Linked DNA regions of Homo sapiens: all the other regions are linked to region 1. Evidence: promoter capture Hi-C in 16 types of primary human blood cells and fetal thymus (Javierre and others, 2016). All regions are on one chromosome and are shown on one strand. Each heading gives the region's core, a stretch centred on a gene start or on the middle of the fragment in contact. The rest is flanking DNA. Distances are from core to core; before and after follow the strand shown.

What was found. The method cuts DNA at HindIII sites, captures the fragments that hold promoters and counts their contacts. A CHiCAGO score of 5 or more calls a contact.
Region 2: a contact is called between a fragment that was not itself captured here and the fragment with the promoter of MFF in region 1, in 1 of 17 cell types (activated CD4 T cells). The highest score is 5.2, in activated CD4 T cells.
Region 3: a fragment that was not itself captured here is called in contact with the fragment with the promoter of MFF in region 1 in 1 of 17 cell types (activated CD4 T cells); the score reaches 6.2 in activated CD4 T cells.
Region 4: a contact is called between a fragment that was not itself captured here and the fragment with the promoter of MFF in region 1, in 2 of 17 cell types (monocytes and activated CD4 T cells). The highest score is 5.9, in monocytes.
Region 5: a fragment that was not itself captured here is called in contact with the fragment with the promoter of MFF in region 1 in 1 of 17 cell types (activated CD4 T cells); the score reaches 5.4 in activated CD4 T cells.
Region 6: a fragment that was not itself captured here is called in contact with the fragment with the promoter of MFF in region 1 in 1 of 17 cell types (activated CD4 T cells); the score reaches 5.2 in activated CD4 T cells.

Annotation. Positions count from the first base shown.
Region 1 is chr2:227,323,260-227,326,994 of GRCh38, forward strand. It overlaps MFF (mitochondrial fission factor), which reads left to right and starts at 1,992. Exons shown (of 9, transcript NM_001277062.2): 1 at 1,992-2,168. It overlaps MFF-DT (MFF divergent transcript), which reads right to left and starts at 1,905. Exons shown (of 14, transcript NR_102371.1): 1 at 1,859-1,905. RefSeq lists an enhancer at 1,814-1,863 and a silencer at 2,044-2,333. The HindIII fragment of the contact is 6,653 bases long and covers 1-3,735 here.
Region 2 is chr2:227,584,471-227,588,306 of GRCh38, forward strand. It overlaps the pseudogene SCYGR9. Among named protein-coding and RNA genes, the nearest start is that of SCYGR2, 13 kb to the right of the region's middle. RefSeq lists an enhancer at 2,433-2,934. The HindIII fragment of the contact is 5,155 bases long and covers 1-3,836 here.
Region 3 is chr2:227,630,220-227,634,157 of GRCh38, forward strand. It overlaps the pseudogene SLC19A4P. Among named protein-coding and RNA genes, the nearest start is that of SCYGR4, 15 kb to the left of the region's middle. The HindIII fragment of the contact is 742 bases long and covers 966-1,707 here.
Region 4 is chr2:227,610,154-227,613,909 of GRCh38, forward strand. It overlaps the pseudogene SLC19A4P. Among named protein-coding and RNA genes, the nearest start is that of SCYGR3, 2.8 kb to the right of the region's middle. The HindIII fragment of the contact is 3,305 bases long and covers 1-3,230 here.
Region 5 is chr2:227,793,161-227,796,925 of GRCh38, forward strand. No RefSeq gene overlaps it. Among named protein-coding and RNA genes, the nearest start is that of CCL20, 19 kb to the right of the region's middle. The HindIII fragment of the contact is 1,441 bases long and covers 878-2,318 here.
Region 6 is chr2:227,771,385-227,775,318 of GRCh38, forward strand. No RefSeq gene overlaps it. Among named protein-coding and RNA genes, the nearest start is that of SCYGR8, 27 kb to the left of the region's middle. The HindIII fragment of the contact is 1,266 bases long and covers 1,194-2,459 here.

The sequences.
Region 1 (3,735 bases), core at 742-3,241:
CACTTAAAAAAAAAATGCAAAAAGAGCACTGTGGCTTTCCTTTTTCCTTCCTGAAAGCAGGAGATAAAACTTCCGTATGAAAGGTGCCCTCCCTGTATAAGGAGGAAGGGAGATGTTCTCAACACCAGAGACATGGAGTCAAAGCTGAGCTGTATCTGCACAAACTTACCGATTTTCATTTCCACTTTGTTACAACAACCTTTATCTTCTTAGTCACTTCTGCATTAACTGCACTAACCCAAATCTGTTTGTTTTCTCACATTTTCACAATTTACTACTCTTTTTAGCCTTCCCTAGAAAAATGGAGACTCAAAAGCACTTAGGGTCCAACTGTTAATTTGGGTCTCCATTTTTCTAGGGAAGGCTCCAATGTAAATGTAAAAATTACTAAATAAAATTTGTATGCTTTCCTCCTGTTATGTTTTATGTCTCTATTTTACGTCAGTGGAGACTAAGCTCTGATTTTTTTTTTAATCTTGCTCAAATTCCTATCTAAGGGGCCTAGGGATTCATGCCCTACAATCCATAAATTCTCATCAGATGGGTTTTATTTAACCCTATATATTGTGACTTACTTTCCAATCTGACACTGGCATAACGAGACAAGAAACAAAATCAAAATATTTTACCGCAAAACATTTTTTTTAGTTTTTGACATATCTTGAAACGGCTCTGCAAAGCTGTCCTTTGTTGGGGGAAAATCTGCATCTACATAGAATTTCTATTAACATAGCTAGATCATTTTCTTCCAGGTCCTCCCAATCCTAAAGAGATTACGTAAGAATCTAGCACCTTTTAAAGATCTGAATAGGAAACATTTGTCATCCATTGTCTCTAAGGGCAGCCACTATAAGACTTCAAAAGAACCTTGGTCTCCACAATCTTTTATTTTAACCTCAACATTTCCTTTCTATGGGTCCCAGGTCTTCAACTGTCAACCAGAAAATGTTTAAATTTACCTACAGCCTTGGAAGCCCCTGCTTTGAGTTGTCCCACCTTTCTGAACCAAACCAATGTAGTTCTTAAATTTATTTGATTGATGTCTCATGCCTCCCTAAAATACATAAAACCAAGCTGCGCCCCAACCACCTTGGACACATGTTCTCAGGACCTCCTGAGGGCTCTGTCACGGGCCATGGTCACTCACATTTGGCTCAGAATAAATCTCTTCAAATATTTTAGAGTTTGACTCTTTTCCTCATCAGTTTAATTCTTAGGCCCAGCCAAGACCCCAAGAGGGGAGAGGAAATATTTTCACTTTCCCTACACCAGTGTTAAGAAGCCCAAGAACGCAATTCAGAGGGCTTCCCAAATCATTTTGAAGAATGGTAACATCTCTAGAATATCAATTAGATCGTAGGGGAGTACATAAGTCATGTGTACACCTTTAGGTGTTTGTGAAAACCAAGGCATATAAAATATCACATTATTTGGCCTCAGTACATTCCCATACTGACAAGCACTGTACCATTTTTCCCCCGCTCTAAGCAAGGGCTTCCTGGGGGGAAGAGTCTGTGGTTGGGTGTTCAGAAGCAGAGAGTGCTCTCCCAAAGCTAAACGATGCCGCCAACTACTGTGAAACTTAACTTCCCCTCTCCCGGAATTCTCATGGAAGACAAGGTCTGATCAACCGAGGGCTTAAGAAGTATCAAATTGGAACTCATGGAATCACTGGCGGAGCTGATTTACATATGAGAATTCCTAAGCCTCACAGCATAGAAATTTTCATGCCAGATGGTCCTGAAAAAGTTGTTTTAATTGGCTACCAAAGGTTTACCTTGCAAACACCAAGTTCTTAAAGATTACAAAATCTAATAAAGCCGAAGTGTGAATTAAACTTAACCGCAAGAGGAGTCACCTGCGGTCACCTCGTTTCGCCCACAACAAAGATGTCTGCGCATCGCTTACCGTGGAGCCGTTCCAGTGCGTGGGCCACGCGTCCGCCCTTTTCCGCGTCACATGACCACGAACACTCTTCCGCTACGGCTCCCAGAAGGGGCCAGCCCGCGCCTTTCGCGCTTCTGCCCTGGCCCTCTGCGGGCCGCTCCGCCGGTGCTGTCCCTGGGCGCCTCCGTGCTCTCAGCCAACCACCTCTGAGAGCGCCCACTCGAGCGCCCCGGGAGCCAGAGGGCGGGGGTCCTCGCCGGGACCCTCCTGTGGGCCCAGGGGTGAGTGTTGACGTCTTCCCGACCCGCGACCTGCCGCCCGAGCTGGCTGCCAGGCCTATCGCCGCCGCCGAGACCCTCCGGCCAACAGGGACCCGCGGTGGCCCCGGCCCCCCCGGTAGTGTCTCCCTGACCCGAGTCCCGTCCCCGGGCCTCTTGCCTTCAACCCTGGTCTTTCCTCCTCCCCGGGACCTTGAGTCCCCGAGGAGAGCGAGGGAGAGGAGCGTCTTCTGCAGGTGTTTTTGGGCGAACCTCTTCACCTTGTGTGGTTCGGCGTCTCCTTTTGTGTATTAACCCGGACTTTTCCGACTGGAAAATAGGGGTTTGGGAAGCAGCGGGAGTCCCGTGAGCGTGAACGCCGGGCTTTGCAGGTCTTCACTCATCCTTCCCTGCCAAGGCCCTGACACCTTACAGGCTGACCTTAAACCTGCCTTGTTTAAAAGGAGGTTTTTGTGTTGTTTTGTGGCAAGTACATTTTGGAAAAGAAGGGCCTTGTTGGAAGCCCAGGTTGTGGCATCGCGGGTGGCTGCGGGCCACCCTGTCCGTCTGTGAGCATCCCTGCTCGCAGATGTGGCTGCAGGCAGTTGCTCTCGGGTTTCCTTCCAGGAGCTGGGAAGCCGGAGGAAAGCTGCGGTTCCTGTTCCGCCGAGCTTCTGACCTTCCTCTGCAGGACGTGTGCTACTATTACTATCGTAAAAGAACACCCCTGTCTACCTCCCACAAAGTTAGAAGCAAAGGGCATTCTCGAGGGAAGAGCACCCTTTCAAAAGTGACATGTTTTCATTGGAGAACATTAAAGGGGAAAAAAAAAAAAAAGGTTTCTGGCCCTTCTGCCCAAATATAGAACCATTTGTATTCAGGCCTCTCATCCACCGAGAGACTTAAGATGATCACAAATGTTTTGTCTCCCTGCGTGAAAAACATTTTTTCTGCCTCAATTCCGTTGGCTAATGAGAGCCCAAAAGAAAAACCCTTAGGAAAATTAGGACGATTTAGTTATACTTAGTAGTCTTTTCCCATGCAATTAAATTGCTTGGGGGACCTTCTATCTTTTGGTTTCAAAGGCTTGTATATTGGTTTTGCCATTTTTTCCAAAAGGAAATTGTGTTCTCTCCCTTCCTGTCTGATAGAGCTGCCTCCTTTCAGAATTGCAAAGTTTAGTCTTCGCTCTCCTCTCTTCTGGTATTGAAACTTTTCTGTGGGTTCATAACCTTATTTTAAAGTTCATTAATATATAGTTTTAAAAGTTTGCAGTGACTTTTTAAATATAGTTTCTTTGAAAAAGAACTGAAACAGGGTGTGCAGAGTGGCCCATCTGTGTGAACTAGGTCCACGCAGTAGGTAATAAACAACTGGAGGGTTTTTTTTGGTTTGTTTTTGTTTGTTTGTATGTTTGTTTTTGAAAAGTACATAAACATTTGCAACCACAGTCAGTTTGACTCAAGTTGTTTCGGTGACTTCCGAGGCTTTCTGGGTTCCAGTGTTCTAATACAGAAAATGAGAAAGTTGGGCTGGAATCATTGTGTCCCAAAATTGGTACACTTTCCGCTAGTGGCATGTGACTTGACTC
Region 2 (3,836 bases), core at 584-3,083, 260 kb after region 1:
CTGAACTGTTGCTAGAATGAGTTAACACTTTTGGGGACTCTTGGGAAGGGATGACTGTATTTTGCATTGTGAGAAGGACATGAGATTTAGGAGGCAAAGGGCAGAATGATATGGTTTGCGTATTTGTTCCCTCCAAATCTCATGTTGAAGTGTGACCTCCAGTGTTGGAGGGGGGCCTAGTGCAACGTGTTTGGATCATGGAGGCGGATCCCTCATGAATGGCTTGGTGCCTTCCCTACAGTAATGAGTTCACACGAGATCTGGTTGTTAAAAACACCAGACTGTCCCAGGTCTATAAAGGGTTTTGTTGAGCAGATCTTTAGATGTTGTTCTTTGGTCTACAGAGGACAAGAGGAAACACAAAAGCAGGGAAGATTTCAATCATGTGTATGGAAGACTTTTAAGTGGAGGATAATAGTACATTGAAATGGGCTAGCAATAGAGGGCATGGATTTTCTGTACCTGGACTCCTTCTAAAGAGAACAGGCACCCTTTATCCTGAATTTTTTAGAAATTCTCCTGTCTAAAGGTAAATGATTAAGTTATTAAAATGTAGGATATATCACAAAATCAGTGTAGATTAATTCTTTCCAATTTCTAAGTCTACTAGGTGTTGCCATTGAATTCTTCAGTTATGTAGATGTTTTCTTTCTGTTTAATTTTTCTAACTTACTATTTATTTTTCTTTTTTTGAGACAGGGTCTCACTGTGTCACCTAGGCTGGAGTGCAGTGGCATGTTCTCAACTCACTGCAACCTCACCTCCCCGGGTTCAAGCGACTCTCCTGCCTCAGACATCCAAGTAGCTAGGATTACAGGTGTGCGCCACCAAGCCTGGCTAATTTTTATACTTTTAGTAGAGATGGGGTTTCACCATGTTGCCCAGGCTAGTCTTGAACTTTTGAGTTCAAGTGATCCACCCGCCTCTGCTCCCAAAGTGCTGGGATTATAGGCATGAGCCACTGTGCCAGGCCTCTGTTTAACTTATATTCTGTTAGTTACACATGAGGAGCAACTTCCTGGGTCATGAACAATCAGGTACTTATATTATATTCTTAGTTTGGATTGGCTAAGTGTAATTTCAGTTTTTATTTGCATGTTGCAGAGAGACTTTAAAAAATCTTCATGCCCTTGCACGTGAATGCATGTAAATAGTACGGTGGATCCTTGATCAACATCTTAGGTCCATTTTGTACTTTTGCTTTGTTCTCCTCATGGGAATGAGGTGAAGAATTGCTCTTAGAAACTGGCAAATATAAAATTAAGCCATTATCACCATTTCTAAGATTAATGCTAGAGTAAAAACAAAGAGATTGAAACCTCTACTTCTTCAGGGTGGGCCTAACCTGGGCTCATTAGACTTTGTCAGTACCTGCATGCACATCTGCTCCCAATACGTCTCAACCCATCCCAGCACAGAGCCAATTCTGCATGAGGCAGATATCTGCTGGCCTGACCTGGTTGTGGCCTCTTCTGAAAATCCTTCTCTGTGATAAGTATTTTGTATCCAAGGTCATATACTTCCTTTTTTTTATTTTTATTTTTTTTGAGTCGGAATTTTGCTCTGTCACCCAGGCTGGAGGGCAGTGGTGCGATCTTGGCTTACTGCAACCTCCAGCTCCTAGGTTCAAGCAATCCTCCTGAGTAGCTGGGATTACAGGCACCTGCCACCATGCCCACCTAATTTTTCTATTTTTAGTAGAGATGTGATTTCACCATGTTGGCCGGGCTGGTCTCAAACTCCTGACTTCAGGTGATTCACCCACCTCGGCCTCCCAAAGTTTTGGGATTATAGGCGTGAGCCATTGTGCCCAGCCCTAAGGTCATATACTTCTAATTGGGATTAGAAAAGGAAAGATTTAAGGCAGATTTGAAAATGTATTACATTTGTTTTAAGGTTATCATTTTCAGGGATGGGTTAGGCTGATTTGGGGTAAAGCACCTGCTATTCTTTTGGCATGTCAGCAACCCAAATTGGGTTCATGCTCCTTTGACCTGACCCAATGAGTGGAAGTGAGATGTAGGCAATTTGGGAGTAAATTACATTAACATTGACTCCAAAGAAATGACTGTCACAAACAGTGAGACAGGGAAATTGAAATTGGGTAAATAAGGCTTCCCTGAGACCTGCTCCACATGCGAAGTATTTCTGCCCTGGATATTGAGCCCATAATGCATTTTAGCACAAGTTTGATCATAAAAGAAATGAATCTCACAGTAGAGGAAATTCTTCCCAACAGGGTTCCTTTATTTAACTTGCGTGAATTTATACAGCACAAAAGGTCCTTTTATAGCAAGACAATAAGTAAAAGAGATGGTTAGCCATCAATATATGGTACATTATTCTGTGCATTTAGTTTTTAGCAGTACAGAACTGCTGGATATGAGAATAGAGTAGAAATAGCATGTAGTTTACAGCACAGTGAAAAGAAGGCAGGCACTGAAGTTTGTGTTAAGGAATTTCAGAAAAACATAAAAGTTAGTAACTATGATTTCATTTTCCATTTCTTCAACCGTGAATTGTTTGCAGGAGCTGGGCTGTCCCTTGCTTTCATAGTTTTCATTGTTCACATGAATATCACTCAATATTTTGAAATTATAGATTTGTGATGTGACAGAGAGGAGGGTATCAAATCTACAGCCCTTGTGTGACTCCCAGTCACATGTGTGACTCCCAGTGATGGAAAGAGAACCAGGGCGAGGTTGGGGGAAGGCTTGCAATGGGCAAGCAAGATGCAGCAAACTCTTCCAGAGTCAGGTGCCCTGCCTAGCAGCAGCATTGCTTTTGGCAGCAGGATTTCTGTTGGCAACAGCCCTTCCCACAGCCGCAGCCACACGAGCTGCAGGTACGGCGGCAGCAGCAGATCACGGGAGTGCTGCAGCAGCCTCCACAGCAGCCGCGGCAGCAGGGGCAGCAGCTGGAGCAGCAGCCCACCCGGTAGCACCTGCAGGTGGTGCAGCTGCCACAGCCACCACCGCAGCCACCACCGCAGCCACCACCTCAGCCACCACTGCAGCCACAACTTCCACAACCACAGCAACCCATGGTGTCAGTAGAGAGGACTCAGGTGAAGTGAGGAGGGAGGATGTGAGAGGTGACGAGGTCTGATGTTTGCCTCTGCAAGGGACCCTTAAATACTGCTGCTGGGGCTTGGCACATGACTATAGTCACTTCCTTGTTGTTTTGGCCACTTTCCGTGGCAAACTTTTGTTTCCTGTTTATTACTTCCTCAGGGGTGTACACAACTTGATTTTTTATTTCAATTTTAGATAAATTCACTTCTATTTCAAAAACGGAATCAGAACTGACATTTTTTTCAGAAAACACTGCATTGTTTCAATCTGTCTACCTGAGGGTAAAATTATTTTGATAGTAGTCAATGGTCTAAGCCAAAGAGATCCAGCCGTTCCTCGTCTTTCGCAAATCAGTAATAGCTGCCCAGAGGAAAGAGTCCTCTTCAAAATGTATCTGTCTTTTACTCTAAGTATATACATTTTATGTGTATTATCCTTAATCACCCTTTATAAAAACCCCAACACATTAGGTATATAGAGTCTTTATTAAAATGAGTTTTGTCATCAAAGAAGCCCAGGAAATGTTGCATATTGTTTCCATTTGGGAAATTCACATTAATATATTAAAGGTAATAGGAAGTCCTGGAGGAAAAGGGAGTCTCAAAAATCAATATTCAACATAAAGAGATTTCATATCAAATAGAAAATGTAGTTAAAAAATTACTTTTTGAATGGGTTTACTCAAAACAAGGATTTAGAGAATCCATTTGAAATAGCAACAAAAATAAAATTAAAGTATGATATATGACTCCAATGACATGC
Region 3 (3,938 bases), core at 87-2,586, 310 kb after region 1:
TTCATCTATTTTTGGAAACAAGATTCTGCCAGAAAATCATTTTATATCATTAGTCAACCACAGTACAGTCTTGTGCCTTCAGTAAAGACAATTATATCTACCACTCTCTCCATAACCGGCTTGGTGATTATTACTAAATTACTCTTCAGCTTTTTCTAGTTGAGATAAAAATGCTTCTTTTAGCTTTCCTCATGGGCCTCTTCCCCTAATCTTTCAGTCATCTTCAAAGATGTGTCTTGAAGCCCCTTTTTAAGATCTTCATAAATCCATTAAGACCTTTGAAACTCCATAAATAGCTTATGTTGTGACAGCAGTTTGAGAGATGCTGGGAAAATGAAGGAATCGCTTCTGGAAGTCTCGATGCATCCTACTCTTTGCTGAATCTCTGTGTCAGAGAAAAATCCTGATTCAGTTTGTATTTTCTACTTTTTAGATTCCAATTTTTAAAAATGGCATTTGGCATCCTATTAGTGGAATATCATGAGTGCAGACAGAGTCAATGATGAATGGACATTTATGATTGAGATTTGGGAGTTACTAATCAATGCACTTCCATATTACTGGCTCTTAAAAACTTAATGAAAGCATATTTAATTAGATTCCTACCAAAAATCAATTTTTAAGAAGCACAGTTTTCAAGACCAGCCATTCATAATAACACCTTTTTTTCTTTGTATATAGGAATAGGGTTTGTCTTCTGTTATGCCTTTGAGCTGTATGTTTTTGCTCATCCTGCTCTGTACCTGGGTAAACTGGTCTCTTCTTTAGCAATTAAACTTTAAAATAGCTTTCCATGGAAGAACCGAATTGAAAGTTGTTCCAGCATTGAGGATGTCAGCAGAGACTAGCAGAGAAGATACGGTAGCAATACAAAGATTTTAAAGGAGTGACTTAAATCTATTCCTCTTGGTCAAGAAGGTAAAAGGATTCGGAAACATTGAAGTATCAGGGGATACAAAAGGTAAAGCTTGAATTTTTCTGCCAAATTTTAGATTTGTTTTCAGCTTTTCATGCCTGTGTGACCCCCTGCCTTTTGAAGAAAGAGCAAAAGGTGTTGATCTGCCAACAAAGAAGACACTGAAATTTTAAATTAGGTTACACAAAATAGTGGCAGAAAGGAGAATAGAAGGATTAATGGCTCGTTTTTATTTCTAGTCCTATTTTACCTAATTCAGTTATAGGAATTCATTCATTTCAACTTAGGATATAATGGATTTGTCGAAAAGTAAGGGAAATATCTGGAGCTGATTAATGTAAAAGTCTTTAGAAAAGGTAAGTGCCTCCTAACCATGTTGATTAATGTAAATAGATGTTATTTTTTTCAATTAGGAAAAGAGAGAGAGATGTTTGTTTATTGACAACACTAAAGGCCAGGAATAGTGTGGTTTAGAGGCCAGCACTTAACCTGTGTAAGAACTCATGCAGTAAGTCTTATATTCTCCATTTTACTCATAAGAAAATTGAGACATTAAGAACATATTACATCTTTAGGGTTTACTTTAAAATAATTTAGAAGCAGGGGTGAGAAATTTCATTGGGAGTGGAGTACAGATGAAACAAGATTGGCCACAAATTGATATTTGTTAAAGTTTGTTTCATTATACTATTTTTTCAAAATGTTGTATGTATTTGAAGTTTTCCAAAATGAAAAAATTTTAACATGTCACTATAAACATCAAGATTCAAAACCAGATTTTGCTGATTTCAAGCTTGTTCTCTCGCTAACAGATGATACACAGAATAATTTCTGAAAAACTGAAGAGCAATTTGCCAACCAGATAGTAAATTAGGAATTTACATTTTATTTTAGAAAGTAATGCTTACACGTCGAATAGCCTCAAACAAGCATATTATATTGAACAAGTGTGTAGTACTGAATCTACATGAATCTTAGTGTTAAGATTTATTAAATGGAAGCAATCCTTTCCTCTGTTGAACAAGTGCGACTACAAAGTAGATTTTTAAAAAATGTCCTGGCATTACTTCATTTAATTTTGTATTCTGAAATGATTTCTTTTTGCCTTTTTGCTTTTAAACAAGATAGCTTCTAAATATTTTGTAGGAATTCTCATCTATTTATAGAGAGGTAAGAATGACGATTTTGTCCATGAGACAGAGTAGATTTACAGAATTTGGGAACTAAGCTTTAATAAGATTGAACTTTAGCTAGGGCAAGGAAAAACCTTTAGCTGTAGCTAATGAGAACCACTTCCACTGGAATGACTTTATGGCTTTAATTTTATGCAGTTCTTTCATTCCTTCACCTCTTTAGTGAAAAGGTCACCTGTTTAATGAAAAGGTTTCTTAAGAAATAGAACCTTAACTACACCATATTTCTATTTCTCAGTATAAAATTATTCTATTGAAGACATCATGCTAAAGGAAAGAAACTAGAAATAAAAGGCTATATAAAAAATAATTCCATTGATATGGCATTCTATAATGACAAACTGTATGGATAGAAAACCAATCAGTTGTTGCCAGGGACGAGGGGTGGGGAGAGGGGATTGGTGGCAGAGAAACACAAGAGCACTGTTTGGGTTGATGTTTATCTTCATTGTGGTGGTAGTCACACAGCTGTACATTTGCCCTAATTCATAGAACTGTACATACAAAGTGTGAACTTACTGCACGTATATTATTTATCAATAACTCTGATTTTTAAAAGTATAAAGATAAATAGATATAGATATATAGTTTTGAAAACATGCCTCTTTGTCCATGAGAGCACAGTGGCCCATGCACTTACCTGAATGTCAACAGGAAGCCCCAGTCCTTGGTTGTCAACCACAGTCATCGTCACGATGGGTTGAATCATCAAGGCAATGAAGGGATTAATTCCAAACGTCAGGGCATAGTCTTCCATGCTCAGATTAACTCCAATCTGAAATCTGTCATTGTACAAATGGAAAGAGTTTTAAAAGGACACACACATGCGCATTCAAATACAAAACAGCGAATTGTGTTCTTCTCAAGGCTTTGGTCTGCTGAGGAAGCCCAGGTTTCTATTGACAGTTTCTTTCTGAAAGCTCTTTTAGCAGAGATAGACTGAAGAAATAGACAAATGGGATGGTGCAATGTATTTTAACATTCCGTGGGATGGGATATAGTACGCTAAGAATTTAAAACTAGTTAAACAATTCTAAAATTAAACCAAATTTTCAAAATACTCTGCAACTAGAAAACATTCAACATTATTTGAGATAAATATGGCTTAGCAAGTCACTTTTAAAATCAGATGTATCAGGCCGGTCACTGTGGCTCAGGCCTGTAATCCCAGCACTTTGGGAGGCTGAGGCAGGCAGATCACTTGAGGTCAGGAGTTTGAAACCAGCTTGGTCAACATGGTGAAACCCTGTCTCTACCAAAAAATACAAAAATTGGCTGGGTGTGGTGGCACATGCCTGTAGTCCCAGCTACTCAGAAGGCTAAGGCAGGAGAATCGCTTGAACCTGGGAGACAAAGGCTGCAGTGAGCTGAGATCGTGTCACTGCACTCCAGCCTGGGAGACAGAGGGAGACTCTGTTTCAAAAAAAAAAAAAAAAAAATTAAGCTTATCAATAAGTGAAAACAGGTCAGCATGAAGAATTTTTTACTTATTTAAAGATTTAATCACTGGATTATTTATTGAGTTAGCAATTTCAGAGTCTAATCAGTGAATATTTCTCTGCAAAATCCACAAATTATTTCCTTTCATAGTTCATTCAATCTGGTAATTAATTCATTTTAAATAATTGTACTGGGATGTTAAATTTAGTCAGTCAAGACTGACATATATAGTTAAAGTTCTTCCATGCAATTTAGCTAAAACATTTGTAATGTGAATCTATTTACAAAATGAACCAAATGAAAAATGTTAACTATTTTTATGTCCCTTCCAAAATTCTTTACATAAAAAAACAAATACAAGCATTTTAAAACGATGTGATTCAACAAAA
Region 4 (3,756 bases), core at 328-2,827, 290 kb after region 1:
TTTTCAAAATGCAGGTGATTACATTTGCTTTAGTTTTCCATCTGCTGGGGCCATTTACTCCTTGCCTGGAGGGCAGAGTCCCATCCTTTCTTAGAAGCCTAATTTTTACCACCCCCCACCACACCATAAGTTCAGCCAACAGTGCACATTTAGAACTGTGGTATTATCGATTTCACTTTCACATTTCCCCAACCACAGAATTAATGCCATCAGGTTGTACTGAATGTGTAGGCATTGATGAACATTGGATTTGGGATTTATCTTAGCCCTCCTGGATTTCTTGTATCCACCTTCGGCTCCACTTCTTATTTTCAAGTCAATTGCTATTTGCTTTTCTGTCTAAATTAATTTAACTGTGATTGGAGTATTGTTAAGGCTTATGGTTTCTTTCTAATTCATTTCAGATATTACTTAATAACAAACTGTGATTTAAGTTTTTGTTCATTTCTTCTATTTTTTTTTTTGAATTCATAAGCCTAAGGGGCCTTGAGATTAGAATAATCTAATCTGTGTCCTTTTGCCAGGCGAGTGAGTCCATTTCTGATAGAAAAACCATTTTTGTGTGTATAGGATCTATGGTGTTTTTTATATCTAGAGAGAAACGTAGATAATAATTAGATAATCCTCAATAATCATATTCACTTGGAAGGTATAAATTGAAAGGCAAATGATGTTTTATGACTCAGACTATGAGTAGTCTATAAAAGCATTAACAATTTTTAGAAGAGACTTCTTTCTGTCGACCAATGCTCATCAAGAGACTCCTAGATATAGGCTGGGCCTGGTGGCTCACACCTGTAATCCCAGCACTTTGGGAGGCTGAGGCGGGCGGATCACTTGAAGTCAAGAGTTTGAGACCAGCCTGGCCAACATGGTGAAACCTCATCTCTACTAAAAATATAAAAATTGGCCAGTCATGGTGGCACGTGCCTTTAATCCCAGCTACTTGGGAGGCTGAGGCACAAGAATCACTTGAACCCAGGAGGTGGAGGTTGCAGTGAGCTGAGATCACGCCGCTGCAGTCCAGCCTGGGCAATGGAGCGAGACTCTGTCTCAAAAAAATAAAATAAAATAAAGAAACTCCTAGATATAAAGGCAGGTTTAAGGGGGTAAGACCAGTTCAGAGATGGAGCAAGTCCTGCTGTGGACTGTCTTTGGGATGGGATGCATTGTGCACAAAGAATTATAATCCTAGGCAAAGAGTGGTATTTGCCATGGTATCCCTGTCAGAGGTGGGAAGCTAGTTCCCCTGAAACCATCTAGAATGGCTCCAGAGCACCGAATCTTGTGGCTTCTTGTTCTCTGTGGACTTTTCATTACATGCTCCCTCCCTCACACTTGGTCTGTTTAGGGCAGTGCTGGAGAGAGTTTCGGCTGAAGCCTCTGCAGTTGGATGGCAGAGGCCATGGCCCGCAGGGTGAATGAAGGTCAGCCCGCATGTCTGTACGGTAAGTTTCCTCATCCCTGGGTCCCAAGGCTCTAGTTTCTCAGATGGACTTAATACTGAAAAAAGAAAAAAAGATAGTCAGAATTTAAAGAAGATATTTCTGTAGTTCGATTGTGCCCAACAAATTGTTTTCATTTTTCAATCTGCTAGTATTCTCACTTGCTTTGCAAATCCCTATAAGCCCTGCCTATAAATTCCCCTACAGTAGGGGATAGTTGACTACATTTGTGCTAATTATTCAGACAGCCTAAAGCAAGACTCCAACTCACAATTGGATTACAGGGAGGTACCTACAGCCACTCCTCTGCGGGGGTGAGATGCAGACAGGTGCCCCCAGTGCACTGCATTGTAAGTTTTGCGCATCTCTCCCAGGTGAGCCCCAGCGTGGTATGTTTAGCCCCTGCCACAGGTTCACCTCCCTGTCCTCCCCTGACTGAGACCCAGTAACATTCAGATGCACTGATGGACACCCCTGCACCTCTTGCTCATATATTCCACCCTGACACCCGTGAGCAAGCCTATGGGTCCTTTCTCCCTGTCTGCCTGGCTGAGACCACTCCCCCGGTGCTGCCTCCCATGTGACCCCCTCTTGGCATGCAGTGACTCCATCTCTTTAGGACCTGTGATGGGAATACACTGTTTTCCTGAACCTATCCTTTGTCTCTTCTTTTTATTTATTTATTTATTTAATTTTTGAGATAAAGTCTCACTCTGTTGCCCAGTGGCACGATCTTGGCTCACTGCAACCTCCACCTCACGGGTTCAAGTAATTCTCTGTCTCAGCTTCCCGAGTAGTTGGGACTACAGGCACATGCCACTGTGCCCAGCTAATTTTTGTATATATATTTTTAGTAGAGTTGGGGTTTCACCATATTGGTCAGGCTGGTCTTGAACTACTGACCTCAGGTGATCCAACCACCTCGGCCTCACAAAGTGCTACGATTACAAGCATGAGCCACCGTGCCCAGCCGCCTTTGCCTCTTCTTGTGGCCGCGCCTGACAGACCATCTGACTATCTCATAATATATGTACATATATACACACACAACACAAACCCCATACCAGGCCACCTGGGTTCTTTTTTCACAAATCTATGTCAACATGAGTATTGAGACCCAGCAAATCCTGGCAGACAGCCACATCTTCTATTTACGCTGACTGGAAACAAACTCACATTTTCAGCGAGTGGGACAGGAGGAGCAAGTGCCTAAGAAGTGTTGGGTCTTGGTGGCTGGAAAAACCACATGTCCCAGAATTCTGCCCATTAGGTTGGTCAACATTACTGGGAAAAGCGACTTGAGGGGTCCTCCCTCAGTGGGGAAAAGCGGATGCCACTTGCCTTAGCGTAAGATGGATGAACTGGCACTTCTCTCCTGACCCCGCTCTTCCAGCTGAGAACCATCACAAGGGAGGGGGCAGTTCTACAGGTGAAGCCTGGGAGGGAAGAATGAGTGAGAGGGTGGAGCCCCAGAGGTAATTCCTAAAGGCTGAGAGTAAGTAAGGGCCTTTGGGTAGCCTGAGGGTATTAGAGGCTCAGGGCTGTTGGAGCTGGAAAGGGAATAGAGACAGAGCCAGATGAGTGCCCAAAACCACCTTGTCAACTTAGACTTCAGAGGGCTCATCTCGCACCTGCCTCCAAACCCTCTCTTCTGAATTTCAAGGTGGAAGGAAAACTGTCTTTCTGTGACAGCATCTTCCCCTCTTTGGAAATCTTATTTGACATGGTTATTTGACTCATGTTCCCTTTGGTTATAACATTCATTTGGTCAGTTCAACCTGTTTAAGCTTCTGTCCAGAGCCAAACTGTGCTTAGAGTAACAAGGACACACCCTAAGTGGTCCTCGTGGGGCTGGTGCAAGAACCAGCTTCTCCGGGAGACACACCCAAGGAGCTTGGCTTCCCTCAGCCCCCGCCCCACTGCTCACCCAAGCTGGGATTCCCCGCTCTCTGCCTTGTTTCCTTCTCACTTTGCTGCTAAACTAGCCACAATAAATCAAGAATCTGAAGTCTGCAAAGAAAAGGATCAGGGAATCTCTATGAAAAATTAGCAAAATGGGTGTTTGGGGACATTTTTTATTGTGCATGGGGACACTCTCAGTAGGGTGTATCATTATTTTGATTCTAATGCTGATAGTCTCACATTACAACTGAAAGCTAATTTTGTAGTTTGAAGTGGTTGATACCACAGACTTCCATGATACCTAACATGGCTAAGAGCCAAATTTCATCATTGCCCAAAAGTGGTCAGGCTCCTGAATGATCATATGACCATTTGGAGTCTGAACAGGTATTTATGAGTCCAGACTTCT
Region 5 (3,765 bases), core at 348-2,847, 470 kb after region 1:
TCAACTCAGTAATGGATCCAAAGCTTTGGGCTTATTAGTGTCATTCCCTGGTTAGCTACTACGTCACCCTACCTAGTTCTACAACAGTTGAAACATCTTTCGCATCAAGCCAATGATTCATTTACTCTTTCTGATGTGCCGTAGAGACTCCAAGCAGATTGGTGCCTTTTGGCCTGGGCTGGCAGTCATGATGGAGCATTCCAGTTGCTCATCTGCTTCTAGGGTTGGGTTCACTCCTAATGGGCACCTGTAAGCCCTAAAGAAATGGGCCATAAATGGTAATGTATGTAGCTGGAAGTGACATGATAGCTTAGGGTTTGCCTAGCTTCTGCTGTGAGAAGAAAGGCTGACTAAGATGGCATGATGTAACGCAATCATGAAACAGAACAAGGTTCAAAGTGGATGATTGTTTACGGTCAGACCATGATGAAAGGCAATAAAATGTTTATAAAACCACTGGTTAAACTGTTGTTATAAACTGATTAAAATCATCAGGCTAGAATACTGTAAGAGGTTATAGTCATTTCTTCTTACTGAGTGGAAATGAAGCTGCTAATTAGTAAGATCTGTAAAAGAATTCTTTTATAATATTGAATCATACGATATTACTTTCCAATGTTATTTTTATAGCATTGAATCATATAATATTACTTCCCAAAAAGAGTCCAGGAAGTAACTAATTGCATACTTCTAATTATCTAATGGAGATACTAAGACCCAGAGAACGCAAGAACTTGCCCAACCAACACAGTGAGTTATTGGTATGGTTAATTAGTGATTCTTTAGCTTTCATGAGATGAAGTAATTTGTGTTTCTCAAACTGTTTTATGGACATATTTTTCTAACATAAAATAACTTCACAGTTAAATTCTCTAAAAGCTTAAAAGTTTACTTGCCATGTAAATTGTTTCCAATTAGCTTTCATCTATTTTATCCTGTAAATCCCAATACAAGGTATAATATATTATTGATGTCTTCCTGGCAGAGTTATGTTTCTTCTAGGGCCATCTGCAAAGTTAGGAGGGCAGTGAAAATTTTGTAAGGCTCACTGTAATATTTTCATGAGAGACTGGTATGAAGTATTCTAAGAAATAATGTCTTTCTTGGCCAGGCACGGTGGCTCATGCCTGTAATCCCAGCACTTTGGGAGGCCAAGGTGGGCGGATCACCTGAGGTCAGGAGTTCGAGACCAGCCTGACCACCATGGAGAAACCCCATCTCTACTAAAAATACAAAATTAGCCAGGCGTGGTGGCGCATGCTTGTAATCACAGCTACTCAGGAGGCTGAGGCAGGAGAATTGCTTGAACCCGGGAGGCAGAGGTTGCATTGAGCTGAGATCGCCCCATTGCATTCCAGCCTGGGCAGCAACAGACTCTGTCTAAAAAAAAAAAAGAAATAAGGTCTTTCTTTCTCTTCGTGGCAATTTTTACTATAAAGTATTAAAGCTATAAATAAAAGTAACTCTGTAAAATTATATTTCTTGTTTCTTTTTCTTATTTTCTTTGAGACAGGTTCTCACTCTGTTGCCCATGTTGGAATCCTGGAGTGCAGTGGCATGATCTTGGCTCACTGCAACCTCTGCCTCCCAGGCTCAAGCCATCTTCCTACCTCAGCCTCCTGAGTTGTCGGGACTAACAGCATGTGCCACCATGCCTGGTTGTTATTTTTGCGTTTTTGTAGAGATAGAGTCTTGCCATGTTGGCCAGGTTGGTCTTAAACTCCTTGGCTCAAGCCATCTGGCTACCTCGGCCTCCCAAAGTGCTGGGATTACAGGCGTGAGCCACCAAGCCCAGCCTAACGTTACATTTCTTTCTTTCTTTTTCTTTCCTTTTTTTTTTTTTTGAGACAGACTCTCACTCTGCTGCCCAGGCTGGAGTGCAGTGGCATGATCTTGTCTCACTACAACCTCTGTCTCCCAGGTTCAAGCAATTCTCGTGCCTCAGCCTCCCCAGTAGCTAGGATTACAGGCACCCACCACCACCCCCAGCTAACTTTTTATATTATTAGTAGAGACAGGGTTTCACCATGTTGGCTGGGCTGGTCTTGAACTCCTGACCTGAAGTGATCCACCCTCCTCAGGCTTCCAAAGTGCTGGGATTACAGGCATGAGCCATGGTGCCCGGCTATATTTCTAAGTTTATTTTGCTTCATATACCAGGAACCGTAGTTTGTTTCACATGTGGTCTTGAAAATAGTTTGTTCTGTTCTGATTATAAGTAACATGTGTTTATTGCTTTTTTTTAAAAAAGGGTAAATATCCAGGTGCAGTGGCATGTGCTTGTAGTCCCAGCTACTCAGGAGGCTGAGGCCGGAGGAAGCTTTTGAGCCCAGGCATTTGAGACTGTAGTGAGCTGTGATTGTTCCACTGCATTCTAACCTGGGTGATAGAGCAAGACCCTGTCTCAAAAATAAAATACAATTAAATTAAATTTAAAAATTAAAAAATTGATAAATATAGAAAAAATGTGAAAACCAAAGGGGAACGCCTCCCACTACCAGAGATCATTTCTATTTTCATTCTGGAGAATTTCCTTCTAGTTTTTTTTTAAAACGCATAAATATGGGAAATACACAATTATGGGAAATATACAACTTCCCATAATGAGTTAACACACCATTTACGATTTTGTGTCCTGCTAGTCTGTCATTATGTCATTAGCGTTTATCCCTTGCATAAAATGCTTCTCAGATTACTAAATGGCAACATACTATAATATTGAACTTTGTGGATATCCAACAATGATTTTAATCACTATTCTCTTACTATTTGTGTATTTTTTGTTTCCTTTCCTATTTTAATTATGATGCAGTGAATAGTTCTGTATGTAATTTTTGCACGCATTTCTGATTATGTTCATAGTAAATATACATTGTCTTAAACAAATGGTTAGGCTTAGATTTTCCTGGAATAACTCTGGAGCCATATACAAATGGGCAGCTGGACCTTTTTCTATAGAACTGTAAAAGACTTAAACCCACATAAAACTGGAGTATTTACACATCACACCTTAGAACTTGGAATATGTCAACATGCTAGCCTATTAGTTAACGCCATTCATAACGACCACTTGGAAATTCTTGGCTCTAACCTGAAGCTACGTGCTATGAAGGAACGCAGGCCTCGGTCTCCAGTTTGTGCCTTAACTGATCAGCATTCCTTAGTAAATTGTTCTCTGCGTAGTCCGATGATTACTATAGCTGCCTTCTTCATATCAATTGTGAGACACATGCAGGGGAATTTTCAGATTTACGATAGAGAGCTACCAATATTTCATCATCAGCACCACAACTGTCATACATATTAAAAACCTTTGATCTATTAAGTAAATATGCTCGGCACCCAGAGGCTCCTTTGGAAAGTACGGGAGTGGTAGGGACTGCCCTCCCCATTTCCATTGGTTCTCTTCTTCCAGTTCTTCGATTTCCCTGGCAAAATATTTACTTTAAGAGCTCAGGGTGTGGCATACTCACTTTACAACGGCATGTGTTCTTTGTGCCAGGAAAAAATAAAAAGTCCCTTGTGGTTAGTGAAGTAGAGGTGAGGACATAATCACAATAGCCGATAGCGCTGAGGCTCTTGTCACATTTTAGACTCATATTTATGAGAAGAAGATGTAGTTGCTTCCATAATATCCTAAGTAAATTCATCTCTATCTGATCTTTGTGAAAGGTGCAGGGAAATGGGTTTACTCGATCAGAGAGTTCTGGAAGGTTGTTTTGCAATCTCTCTCTTTTTTTGAGACGGAGTCTCACTCTGTCAGCT
Region 6 (3,934 bases), core at 577-3,076, 450 kb after region 1:
CGTCAAAGTTCTGTTTTGCCTACAACAGTTCCACGGGGAACACGATTCTGCTGAAGAAAAAGACTGCTGGGTTCTGGAGGAGTATTTTACCTCCTCCTTGCTGGAAACAGTTAATGCCCTGGAGAATGTGGTCGATGGCCTCATGCAGGCGGAGGCATGTTTTAAAATGGGTAAATCTAGTTTTCTTCAGCAGTGGCATGAATCGTAGGAGATCTGCTCAAATGCTAACCAGCTAACTTCTCTGAGGCCAAATACTTGCTGTCTTCAGCCTCTGGTTCTTCATTATGAAGTGAAGGATTTTGTCAGGTTATCTGTAGCTTTCCTCCTTTTTCTCCCAGGCCGACATTCTTATAAGTTAAGTCTACTCTTAGAAGTTTCTCCACTAGCCAGGCGCAGTGGCTCACATCTGTAATCCCAGCATTTTGGGAGGCCAAGGCAGGTGGATCACCTGAGGTCAGGAGTTCGAGACTAGCCTGACCAACATGGTGAAACCTCGTCTCTACTAAAAATACAAAATTAGCCAGGTGTGGTGGTGCCCACCTGTAATGCCAGCTACTTGGGAGGCTGAGGCAGGAGAATTGCTTGAACCCGGGAGGCAGAGGTGGCAGTGAGATGAGATTGCCCCATTGCACTCCAGACTGGGCAACAAGAGTGAAAGTCTGTCTCAAAAAAAAAAAAAAGTTTCTCCACTACTTGGTGAAGGCCTTCTGGGTCATTACTGAGGACTTCTCTCTCTCTCTCTTTTTTTTTTTTTAGTAGAGATGAGGTTTCACCATGTTGGTCAGGTGGGTCTTGAACTCCTGACCTCATGATCCACCAGACTCAGCCTCCCAAAGGGCTGGGATTACAGGCACGAGCCATCACACCCGGCCTATTGAGACCCTTCTCTAGGCAGTTTTCTCCTTGAGATCTCCAGAATCACAATAACACTCAAAGTGCAAAGCAAACAAACAAAACCAGAACACAAAGGAAGAGAGGGAATTTGAAACTGCAGGAGTCATATTTACTTGCTCCTTGTTCCATGTGACAAAGGGGCCAGGTCATATTGTGTGATGAAGTTTGTACTTATCAGTCACCTGGCCAAGTCGTGTAAACCAGGGGTCCCCAATCCCCGGGCTGTGGAACAGTACCAGTCTGTGGCCTGCTGGGAACCAGGCCACACAGCAGGAGGTGAGCAGCAGTTGAGTGAGTGAAGCTTCATCTGTATTTACCACAACTCCCTATTGCTCACATTACCGCCTGAGCTCTGCCTCTTGTCAGATCAGCTGCAGCATTAGAGTCTCATAAGAGCACAAACCCTATTGTGAACTGCTCATGTAAGGATCTGGGTTGCGCGCTCCTTATGAGAATCTAATGCCCAGTGATCTGTCACTGTCTCCCATCACCCCCAGGTGAAACTATCTAATTGCAGAAAAACAAGCTGAGGGCTTCCAGTGATTCTACAATATGGTGAGTTGTATAATTATTTCATTATATTACAATGTAATAATAACAGAAATAAAGTTCATAATAAATGTAATGCACTTGAGTCATCCTGAAATCATCCCCCACTGAACCCTCACTGGTCCGTGGAAAAATCATCTTCCAAAAAACCAGTCCCTGGTGCCAAAAAGGTTGAGGACTGCTGGTGTAAACCACACAATTCTCCCCACTGGCCAAACGTGGAACCATCTTTCACTTACCACAGGCCATAATGAATGTGTATACAGTGTATGCTGGGATTGCTTTGTGCCTTAGGCTGTCACTCAGTGTGCTAAGTGGGGCTCTACTAGGCCCACTGTCTTTCTTCCCCAAGGGTTCTGAGTGTCAGGGACACACCTAGCTTGTATGCATTTATATGGTCACCAGTTTCTCCTTCCCCTCCTCTCTCATCATACCCAAGTTTCTGTTGCTTTATAATGCAAAGCACTTCAGCATTCTCTTTTGTTTCCCTGTCCTTGCTCATGGTGATCTTAACCACTTATTATGACTTTTTTTTTCTTATGAAAATAGTTCCCTCTCTGAGTATTTCTGGCAGCAAGTGTCTTTTTTTTTTTTTTTTTTTTGAGACGGAGTCTCGCTTTGTCACCCAGGCTCGAGTGCAGTGGCGTGATCTCGGCTCACTACAAGCTCCGCCTCCCGGGTTCACGCCATTCTCCTGCCTCAGCGTCCCGAGTAGCTGGGACCACAGGAGCCCACCACCATGTCCGGCTAATTTTTTTGTATTTTTAGTAGAGTCGGGGTTTCACCGTGTTAGCCAGGATGGTCTCAATCTCCTGACCTCGTGATCCACCCGCCTTGGTCTCCCAAAGTGCTGGGATTACGGGCGTGAGCCACCACGCCCGGCCTAAGTGTTAAGATTATGAAATATTTACTCTCTGCATACTTAGTTCACCTATAATACTAAAGATACAGGGAGAGAAGTGTTGCTAAGGGGAAGAAGATCTTGGGTTCTAATATAAATGCAATCTTGCTTTGAAAGCTTGGCTCCTTCTTTCTCTGTACCAAATAGGACAAAATAAACAGCTTATAACATAATAAGTGAAGAGTTAATTTTTCAGTGACAGATAACTATTATCTCCAGTTTCTCCTTTGGCCATCTTCCTGTATTTATGAATGCCTCTTCTTTGAAAATAATAGTGAATTACTATACCATTTTTCCATATTCTAACATTTTGCCTTTTTCATCCAAAGCGATATAAGCAAAACAGAGTTTGTGGGTTACATGAAGATCGTGAGAAGACCTGGATTGGGGTCCTGATTCTCCACGCACTGAGGTATTGCTCCTCACAAGAGGGCATTAGCTACGGGGGTCTGCCCACAGACCCTGACCCAAACGACGGATGGATAAAATGTACACTGACACACAGATATTCTGTTTTGCCAGTCCTGCTGAGTGTCTGAACCCCTACACACCAAGAGAGGTTTGTCACTCCGGCCGGTCCGGAGCAGCTCGCCCTCCAGGCATTTGTTTACTATACAATTAACAACAGAAGCTCTGAGTCTTGTGGATAATTAACATGGTTAAGAGAGTAGTTCTACAAATGATTAAAGCTCAGGTACCGCGTTTTAAAGTAAATACCATTAGGGGGCAGTATTTCTGGTCCACCTCCCCGCGAGAGGGCCATCTGGCTCAACAGTTGGTTAACGGAGGTAGGGTAAACAGACTTATTGGGGAAGCCTCTACTGTCCCTAGTATTCTAATTCTCTAAGGTAAGAACTGGCTGCCTTCAGCCTCTTCAATTATTACAAGCTATGTAACCTTTCGGCCTTCCAAAGAGGTTTGTGACTATTCCCTATAACTTTCCGTAATATTTCCTTTTAATATTTCTGCCACCATCCTGAGTGAATCCCAACAACTCACTAGATAACTCACCCTGGAAAAGTCATTCAACAAATCTGCGGCCCCATTTCATCATCTGATACTCAAATGGTTGTGGAGATGGCCTCTGCAGTTTCTATTAAAATATCACCAAATTCTAAGTAGGTCATTTTTTTTGTAGTAGACTTTTCTACATTTAAATTGCTGGTAGGAAGACTCTTTCAAATCTAGGTAAGCCAGTTTTAAAACAGACAAAGAATACAGAAGAGGAAATGACAACGAGTTTGCTGTTTTCCATTTCTTAATTTTAAAAACCAAAGTCCTGGTATTATCTATCAGAATTTCCGTTAATCATGAAAAGCACACTGGGCCTCTCATCTTCGTCTCTCATTGATTGACAACCTTTCATTTTGATTCCACCCAGCATTACAGGAGTTTTCTAAGTTCTTAACATTTCTAATGGTCTGGCAAAGCTGTGTGAATGCCATCAATACTGATTTCCAGGAAATCTTGATGTTAACATTTTATCTTTAGTGTTGCGGTGTTTTGCCTGCTCTGATATGAACTGGAAAATATTCTCACCCACATTTTGAAAACTGGTGTGAAAAGTGATGCTAACAGTAAAGGTCTTTC